Linked DNA regions of Homo sapiens: region 1 is linked to region 2. Evidence: promoter capture Hi-C in 16 types of primary human blood cells and fetal thymus (Javierre and others, 2016). All regions are on one chromosome and are shown on one strand. Each heading gives the region's core, a stretch centred on a gene start or on the middle of the fragment in contact. The rest is flanking DNA. Distances are from core to core; before and after follow the strand shown.

What was found. Contacts are between HindIII fragments. The CHiCAGO score rates a contact against its expected background, and 5 or more counts as called.
Region 1: a contact is called between a fragment that was not itself captured here and the fragment with the promoter of ACCS in region 2, in 1 of 17 cell types (endothelial precursors). The highest score is 5.5, in endothelial precursors.

Annotation. Positions count from the first base shown.
Region 1 is chr11:44,521,521-44,527,035 of GRCh38, reverse strand. LOC105376646 (a long non-coding RNA gene) reads left to right here and starts at 970. Exons shown (of 5, transcript XR_931232.1): 1 at 970-1,557; 2 at 2,998-3,197; 3 at 4,428-4,533. The HindIII fragment of the contact is 846 bases long and covers 2,550-3,395 here.
Region 2 is chr11:44,062,305-44,068,260 of GRCh38, reverse strand. It overlaps ACCS (1-aminocyclopropane-1-carboxylate synthase homolog (inactive)), which reads right to left and starts at 1,991. Exons shown (of 15, transcript NM_032592.4): 1 at 1,560-1,991; 2 at 346-633. The coding sequence starts at 633. RefSeq lists enhancers at 1,822-2,011, 2,032-2,121, 2,222-2,351. The HindIII fragment of the contact is 11,098 bases long and covers 1-2,787 here.

The DNA of each region.
Region 1 (5,515 bases), core at 1,723-4,222, 460 kb before region 2:
ATCATAAATAAAACACCAAGTGTGGAAAGGTAGCAGGCAGGCCCCCGGCCTTACTGAATTTCAGGGGTCAGGCCCCTCCCACCTGTCGCCCCCAGGGCCCTTCTTGAGGATCTGCCTCAGGTTCTTCTCCACGCAGGAGGAGCAGCCCTCAGACAGGGGTGGGCCGAGGCTGCTGGGGGAGCCTTTGCTGGCTCCCCTTATTGCTCCCCACACCCCACCCGACGTCTACCCCAGATCCTTATGGTTTCAGCTCTGTCTGGGATAGGCCTGGGGCAAGGGAGCCCCCAGAGAGCCTGGGTCAGCTCGGATGAGGGGGCGGGGAGGAAAGCGGGTCGAGCAGAGGTGTGTTTTGAAATCTGCTTCCTTTTGGCCACGCTTGAACTTCCAAGCGGCAGGGTTTGACTGACAGGCGGGGAGAGGGAGAGCCTGCTCCCCACGGAGCCCGGGGCAGAGATGGAGGGGCTCTGCAGGGGCTCAGGCCCGGGGGGCTGCATCCTCTGCCCTTCCTCCCCCTACTCTCAGCAGGGCCTGGAGAAGGGGGTGGGTCTGGGCTCCCTGAGCCCAAAAAGGCCAGGGTTGGGGTGAGGATCTTGGGGTCAGAGACAGAAAAATCTCAGAATCACAGCAGGTCTGAGCCCCTTGGAACGCGTCTGACCACAAAAACAAAAGCACCATCAACAAGGACGGGTATCATTTACTGAACTCCTGCTGCTCATTCGTCAAAAGCTCAGAACATTGCCCTGTGTGCCTCGTAAATGCTGTAGGCATTTGTGAACCAGTAAATAAGGGGAGCCCTGGGACTGCCATTTGTCCTTCCCTCTCAGAAAGCGAACGGATGGATCCTCTACTTTTCCCTGGCCCTCCCCTGTGTCTCGGGGCTGACTCCTGCCAACTGTTGATATATTTCCCAGGCTCCTTTGCCCGCCGGCTTCCTGTTAGTCTTGGCCAATGGGAAGAACTGGATGGAGATCAGCGGGCGGGGCGGAAGGGAGGAGCCAGGGTCTTCCTCCTCATTTCTCTCTGCTTTAGTGGCAACTTGGGAAGTGGTTGGGTCACCGCCAGGGTTCCAGCTCCCATGGGCAGCCCCCTGCCTGACTGTGGTTCCGGTGTCCCACACCTAGTCTGGTTCCCAGGCTTTGGGTATCGGCACTTCCTCCCCGGTCTCTGGAGTCCCAGGTTGTCACAGCTGCCTGCCGCTGCTTGTCGGTGGGTGGCTCACCATCCCCGGTCAGGCCTTTCAGCTCCTCCAACACCTTCCGAACTAGCTCCCTATATCACATGCCCTCTGTTGAAATACCTGACTTGAGTTCTGGTTTCCTAGCTGGATCTTGACTAAGAGAAGCCCCTACTATGTGCCAGGCTGGGATCCCTGCCTTCAAGGAGCTTACAATCTAGTGCGGAAAGGGACGTTTGTCAAATCATCCCATGAATATGCATAAAAGTTCAGACAGCACCCAGTGCTGTGAAGGCCACTGTCGGTGAGGGAAGACCCTAGAGAGGAGGCTTGATCTCACTTGGGGCCTGGCAGGCACCTCGAGGAAGGGATGTATCTAAGAGGTAGTGTGTCTGATGCTCTGTGTACACCATTTCTCAACCTTGGGGCAATCCTGCAAGATCAGGGTCACTGTCCCCATTTTGTAGATGAGGACATGGAGGCCCAGCGAGGAGCACCCTCTGTTGCAGCCTCAGGATCCCGGGGAGACTGGCTGTGACTGGGACTCGGGTCTACCCACTCTTTGCTGCCTACTGTCTGGGACTGACATTTTGCAGAAGAGGGAATCAGCCTAGAGAAGCACAGTGACTCCTCCAGGGCCACCAAGCCAGGGGAAACCAGGTCACCTCGTCCTGGTGTAGATCCTGAAGGCTGCCTCTGCCCTGTGAGATTTCCCATGTCACTGCTCATTTGCACACTCAGCGCTTCCTCCTCCTCCTCCCAAGCTTCCTTCCAATTGGCGGCTGAGGCAGCATCAGAAACCACAGTGCTGGGCCCAGTGCCAGAGCCTCCCCCTCAGTGACCCCCTTCCCACGTCCTGAGTTTCTGAGACTAGCTCTGTCCAGGGGGAAGCTTTTCCAGCCCTTTCGAGCCCACGTGCACTCGAGAGTATGTGTGAAAACGTGCACTTACCTGGAGCATGTCTTCCCTGTGGTGTGCAGCGAGGGGCAAATAGGGCCCTCTCTAAGATTAGCCCCCAACCCCCGCCCCCGACACACACACACACTAATTTCCACAAGTATGGGCAGGACTTTCTGCTGAAGTCATCACAGATGGGTGGAGTTCGGGGGTGCTTGGTATCCTGGGGGTTTTCAGGGCAGTGTAGCCCCTGCACCAGGCGCTGCGTGCCTGGGGAGACACCAACAGCTTGCTGGCTAGGTGGTGGCCAGGCAGGGACAGAGAGCAGGCCCAGAGGGAGCCGGGGAGGCAGGACTCCAGGACATCTGGGCTGGGGGAAGGTGGAAAGTGCAAAATATCCGTGCAGGAGGTGAAGGCCTGGATGTGTAAGGCCCTGAGGTCTCTGACAGGAAGTGAAAACCTCAGGGAACTGGAAGCTTGGCTGGGAACAGGCCGTGAGAGGGAAACTCGGCCACACGGAGAAGCCGGCCGAGGCCTCCTTGAGCAGATGGGGATACTGAGGCTGAGGCAACTGCTTTGCTCAAGGGACTGGGAGTCTTTTTTATTTTCCACCCCACCGTTCCTAGATTAAAGCCAGCTGAGAATATTGCTTCTGTGACAGCCCGATTACCTTGGCCTAAATTTTCTAGTGGGTGAGGAGAGGCAGCACTGTGCTAACATAGCCAGCTTTTTTTTTTTTTTTTTTTAACTTTTTTAGTGACAGGGTCTTACTCTATCACCCGGGCTGGAGTGCAGTGACACAATCAATGACTTGCTGCAGCCTTGAACTCCTGGTTTCAAGCAAACCTCCTACTTCAGCCTCCTGAGTAGCTGGGACCACAGGCATATGCCACCACACCTGGCTAATTTTCCAATTTTTTGTACAGACAGGATCTCATGTTATTTAGGCTTGTCTGGGACTCCTGGCCTCAAGCAATCCTCCTGCCTCGGCCTACCGAAGTGCTGGGATTACAGGCATGAGCCACTGCACCCGGCCACCAGCATTTGTTAAAGTCTCACCACGGATCAGGCTCTCATCTAAAAAACTTGAAGTTGTCATTCTGTGTCCTTACAGTAACCCCTCAAGGTAGGTGTCACTCTCATCTCCATTTTACAAATGAGAAAAGAGGCTAACTAAGGGAAGTTAAAGAGCTTGCCGAAGATCACATAGCCAGAATTTTAATCCGAGGATCTGGAGCCTCTTTTGCGGTGCCATCAAAGGCTTGCTGGCTCCCCCTGGTGTGCCCTCAAGGCAGCTGCCTGTGACTGTCCTGTAGGGGAAGCTTTGCAGATAGGGGACCTTTGTAGATCGTCGATATCCTGGGCTCTGCGCATGCTGTGGTTCCTCTGCCTGAAATGCTCTTCCTGCCTCTTCTTCTTCTTCTTCTTCTTCTTCTTCTTCTTCTCCTTCTCCTTCTCCTTCTCCTTCTCCTTCTCCTTCTCCTTCTCCTTCTCCTTCTCCTTCTCCTTCTTCTTCTTCTTCTTCTTCTTCTTCTTTCTTCTTCTTCTTTTTTTTTTTTTTTTTGATACGGAGTCTTCCTCTATTGCCCAGGCTGGAGTGCAGTGGCTCAATCTTGGCTCACTGCAACCTTCGCCTCCTGGGTTCAAGAAATTCTCCTGCCTCAGCCTCCCGAGTAGCTAGGACTACAGGCGCACACCATCATGCCTGGCTAGTTTTTTTGTATTTTTAGTAGAGACGGGGTTTCACCATATTGGCCAGGCTGGTCTTGAACTCCTGACCTCGTGATCTGCCTACCTTGGACTACCAAAGTGCTGGGATTACTGACGTGAGCCACCGCGCCCAGACTTCCTGCCTCTTTTCTAGTGTCCTGGCCTGCTTTGGAGCTCAGTCTGAAGTTAGCTCCTGCTTTGGGGGTTACCTCCCCCTGAACTCCAGGCTAGGCTGGGTTTCCCTGTTTTTCCTCCCAGAGCACCTGTATATCTTCTTTGTAGCATTCATTCATTCATTCATGTTTCATTCAGTAAGTATCTACTCAGAGCACATGGTAAGTCAGGTGCTGGAGACAGAGCACAAAGGGGTCACAACTCCCACCCTCGTGGTGTGCACTGTCTAGTGGGGAAGACAGGAAAACAAAGAAATGCATAACCTTGTACCAAATACTCATACTCCTACTTTTTGAAAAATCAGGAAAGGGGATGGAGATTGATGGGGTGGTATTTTAGACATGGGGGTCCGGAAAGGTCACTCAGAAGAGGTGACATTTGAGCAGAGATGTGAGCAAAGTGATTTGTCATAGCATGCCTTAATTATTCTCTGAACTTCTGTCTCATGCCTGTCTTTTCTACTGGGCTATAGCTGAAGACAAAATATTTGCCAGTCTTGTTCATGAAGGTATTCCAATGCCTAGAACATTGCTTTTGCACATAGTAGGTGCTCAACAAACGGGCCTTGCACACAGTAGGTGAGTAAATGAGTGAGTGAATAAATGAATGAATGAATGAATGATGGAGGCAGAAAAATCTTTGCAGGCTCAAGTGCTAACTCTAGTCCTGTGCTCCACAACAGTTGCAGACATGTCAATCTCCTCCTCAAAGCCTCCCTTTCCTCCTAAATAGGGAATTAATGGGGAGCTTGACCGATCCTTTGGGACAGGTGTTAAGAATCTCAACTGGTTAAAAAATCTGGACCCAAAATAGATGATTAAGAGACCCAGAAGGCAGTGGGGCTGTGAGGACGTGGAGGGCAAAAAGGCATCCAGTTTGCATTGCTCCAATTCCTCCCCAGACAGCCAGCCTCGATGGACTGTCTGTAGTCCACACTTTTTTTTTTTTTTTTTTTGAGACTGAGTCTCGCTCTGTCACCCAGGCTGGAGTGCAGTGGTGCAATCTCGGCTCACTGCAACCTCCGCCTCCTGGGTTCAAGCGATTCTTCTGCCTCAGCCTCCCGAGTAGCTGGGACTACAGGTGCGTGCCACCACACCCGGCTAATTTTTGTGTTTTTAATAGAGGCAGGGTTTCACCATATTGGCCAGGCTGGTCTCAAACTCCTGACCTCATGATCCACCCACCTCGGCCTCCCAAAGTGCTGGAATTACAGGTGTGAGCCACCACGCCCAGCTGTTGTCCACACTCTTATTTGAGCCAGAGTACCCATCAGGGAGGCTGAGGTGGTGGGAGAAGGCTGCTTCCTGACTAACAGCTGTGCCAACTCCAGAGCTGCAGGTCCAGGCAGGCAGGGACCTCAACCCCAGCACAAAAGGATGTAGAGGGGTAGGAGGCCAGGGTGACTTGGGAGCCAGGGGCTTTATCCTACCAAAGGAAAGGATCTCTCCTGGAGCGAGGTCAGTGGAGTGGGTGTTAGCGAGGGCCTGGGCTTTAGGGAGGCTCATGGATGACCCAAGAGTTTCATGCCTGAAGGCTCCTGTGCTCCCCCAGTGAGAAGGA
Region 2 (5,956 bases), core at 742-3,241:
AGCAACACACAACCTATAAGTAAAACAGTTGCAACCTGAACCTTAGTTCTGCCCTAGCTCTAAAGTTGGATAGTCGACAGGTCGTGGGTCAGAATCCATAGAACATCATATGGTTCTTGAATTCCTCCCTCAGAAATCAAGGTCCCCTATATTCTAAATGGACCATTTCCTGATCCAGGCAGTACACTGGGGCCTCTCTAAGCTACATCAGAAGCCCTCTTGGAGGTCAGAGTACCATAACTCCAACCTCATAAGAGCAGGCTGGATGCTGCCTTATTGGTCAAGGTAGGGTACCCCACCCTGCAGTTCTCTCTTGGGTCCCAGTGGGAGGGGAGCTTCACTCACACTGGGGTTCTTGTCCTCATCATACTCATCCATGTGGTAGGTCCTGTAGCCCTCCTCAGCTGAATCCCAGAACCATTTAATCATTCTTCCTCTAGAGGACAGGTAGGAGGTATCAGAGGAGATCATGGCAGGATCACCCACTCCACGGAGCTCTGGCAGCTTCTGGTCCAGTTTTCTGGAGCATTCTCCTTCCAGATCTTCCCCATGGCTACTGCCCAGGTCCTGCATGCAGGTGGGGCCCAGACAGGTGGTGGGAGCCCTGAAGTCCTTTTGAGGAAGGGTGAACATCTGCAAAAAGACAAAACGCACAGGCCTGCTCAAGGGATTTCCATAGCACCAAGCATCAGAAAGGAGTTGGAGTCATGGGAGTCCCCTTTCTCTTATCTGCCCCTTCCTTTAGGTTTATGCACTCATCACTTCCTGTGTCCCTTAGCTGTAACCATATGTGCAACGACTTCAACAAGAAAAATCTGTTAAGGACCTAGTACGTGCCAGGGACTGCACTTGCCACATTGACGTGACTTTAATGTATTGCTGCTTTAGCGTGTTCTACTTCTGCAAAAGTTTTTCACTCTCCAGCCTAAGGGGTCATCAACATTCTTTTTCCACCCTTGCTCACCTCAATTACCAAATGCCAGGTTAAAATTTCCTGAGTTAAAGCAGAGTATTGCCTGGGAGTCCTGGGGGTCTTGTGGTGTAAAGGGTAGGATGAGATTATGTGGTGTTCTGAGGCAGATGGCGGGTAGGAACTGAGGGAAGGGAGGAATGGGAACCTCCACAAGTGCAGGCAACCCAGGCAGAGCTCCAGGGCCTGCCTCTTCAGTCCTGAAGAAACGAGGTGTGGACACCAAGGAGAGGGTGGTCTACTCCTGCCCGCGGGTGTGAACTCCTTCACTTCTCTAAGCCAGTTTAGTTTCCTCATCTGCACAGTGGATATAACAGTAACCACCTCGGGGTGGCCGTGAAGACATAAATATATATGTTAGTGACAATAAAGTACTTAGAACAAATCCTGGCTGATGACCAAAGTTCAATAAAATATGAGTCATTATAGCGTAACTCCTTGCCAATTTTCCCAGTCCTGATGCACAACACAAGCTCTGGTAACACTGGGCGCACCATAAACTCAGCGGGTACCCGCAGTTAAATTTTCCTCCGCAAAGTCTTCTCAGGGGTACTCTTTAAATTGGCTGGGCTCTCCCAAGAGCGCTCACCTCCAGCTCTCCCGACAGCCCAGGTCCGAGGAAGGGCAGCACAGTGGGCGGAAGCCGGGGTGGGAGTAAAGCCTGGGGTAGGGGGGCGGCGGGGTTCGAGCCTCCAGGCGTCCAGCAGGACGGCGGCGAATCCACAGCCAGATACCCGCACTCGATGAGGCCTTGGAATCCCGCAAGTGGGGCGGCTACCGCGCACGAAGAACCGAAACGGCCTTCTACAGGGCGGAGGACGTCTCGCGAGAGACGGCTCCAGGTTTCCAGGCAGAGGAAGTGTGATCGGCGCCAAGGGATTCGAGATGGAAGGGCAGAGGCTTTTGCAAAGTGCACAGAGGGAGGCCTGAACGGCTTCCTCCTCTGCAAAGTAGTGGATCCCACCTACTTGGCGGAGCTGGAGGAGGCGGTGCTGGCACTCGGTGGGCGCCCATCACGTGTAGGTTTTCTCCGCCCGGAAACGCCCTGCGGCGACTTACGCGTGGGTGAGGACAGCGCCCCCCTGCGCTCAGCGCGCCCGGACTAGGAGACTGAGGGCGGTCCGCACCGGGTTGGGCTTCCAGGCCTGTTCAGGGCGCAGTTCGTCCCCTTGCCACTCAGGCGGGGGCGGTCTCGGCGGGGACTACGCTTTAAGGGTGGCACACGAGGTAGCACCGCGGGACCAGGAAAAGGGAAAGGGGCGTAATGCCGTTTCCCACCTCCACTCTGGGTGGCCTGCGCGTGCTGGGCCGCCGCCGGGCCGGGTCTGCCACCTCCTTCTGCCTCCTGGCCTTGGTTCTCCAGTTTTCAAAGGAGGTTAGAGCCACAGAAATTTCTTGCCAAAGTATGCTTGGCTGCGGCCCACACAAAGGGCTTTTTAGATTCGGGTGTGAGCATCCTTATGGCCTTTCATCGCAGTTTGTCATTTCTGCCCCTTTCATTTGTAGGGGATTTTCTGTAGCCCTCATAGGTTCTTAGTTGGGGGAGACTCCTGTTACAAAAGACAAATTAACAAGAGAAAAACAGACAGAAATTTACTGACATGTGTATTTCATTTATACATGAGAAATCTGGAGGGAATGAGTCGTTCTGGAAGAGGTGACTTTGAATTCCAGTTTTTATAGCATCTTCAACAAAGAACAGTAATTTTTTTAAGTTACAAGACAAAGAAATAGGGCTTTGAGTCTCTCCAGGAGGCAACTTGTGAGAAGGCAAAAAAAAAAAAAAAAAAAAAAGACAAAGGCCAGTTAGTCAAGCTTGTTAATGTAAATTCCTCTGGTACCATCTCCAGGCCATAGGGGTCTAAAGTTGTCTTTGTTCTCCTAGGTAGACAGAGGGACAGGATACCTTTTGTCTTTGTAAACCTGTGTCCTACTTTTAGGCAAATAGGGCCAGGGTAGAGAGCTTTCCTGAATGTGCTGCTGCTTGTCTTTAGCACAATCCTTCATGTTTTGGGGAGGCATGTCCTGGTCTCCCACACGTGCCTGCAATATTTGTTGAACTCTGGCTAGGTGTGGCGGCCCACGCCTGTAATGCCAACACTTTGAGAGGACAAGGTGGGAGCATCCCTTGAACCCAGGAGTTTGAAACCAGCCTGGGCAACATAGAGAGACCGTGTCTCTACCAAAAAAAGGTTTTTATGTTTTTTTGTTTTTTTGAGACGGAGTCTCGCTCTGTCATCCAGGCTGGAGTGCAGTGGCACAATCTCTGCTCACTGCAACCTCCGCCTCCCGGGTTCAAGCAATTCTTTTGTCTCAGCCTCCCCAGTAGCTGGGACTACAGGCACGCACCACCACGCCTGGCTAATTTTTGTATTTTTAGTAGAGATGGAGTTTCACCATATTGTCCCGACTGGTCTTGAACTCCTGACCTCGTGATCTGCCCGCCTCGGCCTCCCAAGTGCTGGGATGGCAGGCGTGAGCCACTGCACTCAGCCAAAATGTTTTTGTAAATTAGCCAGACTTGATGACATGTGCCTGTGGTTTCAGCTACTTGGGAGGCTGAGGTGGGAGGATCACTTGAGCCCAGAAGGTAGAGGCTGCAGTGAATTTGATCGTGCCACTGCACTCCCACCTGGGTGTTTGCGAGACTCTATCTAAAAAAAAAAAAAAAAAAAAAAAAAAATTACATACACACACACACACACACACACACACACACACACACATATAATTTCAAAAGTATTTTTCAAACTCTGCCCTAAGCTCTACATATTCTGGCAATGGGTACAGTGGGCACCCAGGTCCCAGGTAGAGCTGCAGTCTCTGAGGTGCCTTGAATGGGAAAGTCTTCTTTCCCCATGAAAGGAAATAAGCAGAATCTCTCAATACAGGTATGGCTGGGAAGACATGGCTGTCTTCTGGCCATTCCACTTCTTGTCTTCACTTTTGCCTTGCACTAGCTAACACTGTGACCTTGAGCAACTCTCATGACTTTTTTGGCCCTTACTGTTTTCTTCTGTAAGATAAGGAAGCGATTATTTTCCTCTATTTAAATCTTAATTCTATGTAATTCACATCTCAGTGAATGCCTGTTATGTGCCAGGTCTCTGTAAAATGCGAGGATACGGTGATGAGCAAGACAAACCAAAGCCTGCATGATTGATTGGGAAGGCCGACTTACAATGTGGGGACTATTTTAAAAAGACTATTTACTGGGTACCATGGAAACATGCAGCAGGGGGATTTAACCCCACGAAACAACAAACACAGGCACTTGTCCTAAGTGGAAGACATACACACACGTTACATTAAATGTGAATTGACTAAAGATCAATTAAAAGATCATCAGACTGGATAAAACAGCAAGAATCAAGCATATGGTGTGTGCAGGAGACACACTTTAAATACAAAAACAAATGGTCAAAGGTAAAAATGTGAAAAAAAACAAGCAAATAATAATCATGAAAAAAGCTGATGTGTTCATATTGGTATCTGATAGTAGGCTTCAAGACAAAAATAATTAACAAAAATAAAATGGGGCATTTTAGAATAAAATGATTAATTTATCAGGGTGACAATCTTAAAAGTTTATGCTCGTAATAACAAAGCTTCAAAATACATGAAGCAGAAACTGACAGAACGAAAAAGAGAAAAGACAAGTTCATAATAATTGGAAAATTTTATACCACTCTCTCGGTGATAGAACAAATGGATCAAAAGACACTAAGGATCAGAACTTTTGGACATTATACAAAAATTTAATCTAATTGACATTTATAGAACACCATCCCCAATACCACAGAATATACTTCTTTTCAAGTGCAAATGAAACATTAAGATAGACCACATGTTGTAAACAAATCTGGCCATAAACTGTCTTAATAAGTTTCAAAGGATTGAAACCATAGAGTACATTCTCTAGTCACAATGAAATTAAAGTAGAAATCATTAACAAAGAAAGCTGAACAGTCCCCAAATATTTGGAAACTAAGTTACATATGCTAAGCAAACCATTGATTTAAAAAAAGAAATCACAAGGGAAATTAGAAAATATTTTGAATGATTAAAAACCAGCAGATCAAAGTTTATGGAATGTAGCTAAAATAATGCTAAGTGAGAAATGAATAGCTTGTAATGCATATATTTGAAACCAACTTAAAACAAATGATCTAAGCTTCCACATTAATAAGCTAGAAAAAAGAGCAAATTAAACCCAAAGTAAATAGAAAGAAATAAAGATAAGAGCAGAAATGAAGGCGAAACGAGAAAAATCAATGAAACTGAAAGTTGGTTCTTTGAAAAGTTCAATACAGTTGATAAACAGTTAGATTGACTGATCAAAAAAACTCATTTTGTTGCAGAATTTTGCTCCTTAGTTCAGCTAAAACCGGGTTCTTGTCACACCACCAGGAAGGATTAGGAACATGGACACATTGAAGGGTGAGGGGAACGGAATTTACTGGGCAAAAAGGAAAAAAGAAAAATACTGTCAGCAGAGCAAGAGGGGGTCCTGCTAACAGGCCTCCAAACTCACATTGAATCCCAGGCCACCACACAGAAATTGAAGAGGCCAGGCTCCTCCCCGCTGAGCATGGCCACAGCTTCCCTTGGCTCCATCTTGTTCTCCCAGTGCACAGATGGGTTGGAGATTCTCCGGAGACCCTCCCCGTAATCCCCCTCCTGCATGTATCAATTTCAGTATCAGGAAAGGAAAAGGAGATACAACTAAAGATCCTAAATGTATTAAAAGGATAACAGAATATTTATAACCAATTTTAAGTCAATAATTAAACTTAGATGAAATAGACAAACTTTATTGAAAGGCACAAATAACCAAATCTGATACAAGAAATAGAAAACTCGAACTGTCACAGAAATTGAATTTATAAGTAAAAGCCGTCCCACAAAAAAAAAAAAAGAAGAAAAAAAAAACCTCCAGGCCCTTATGGTTTTACAGCTGAATTCAACCAAATATTTAAAGGTTGA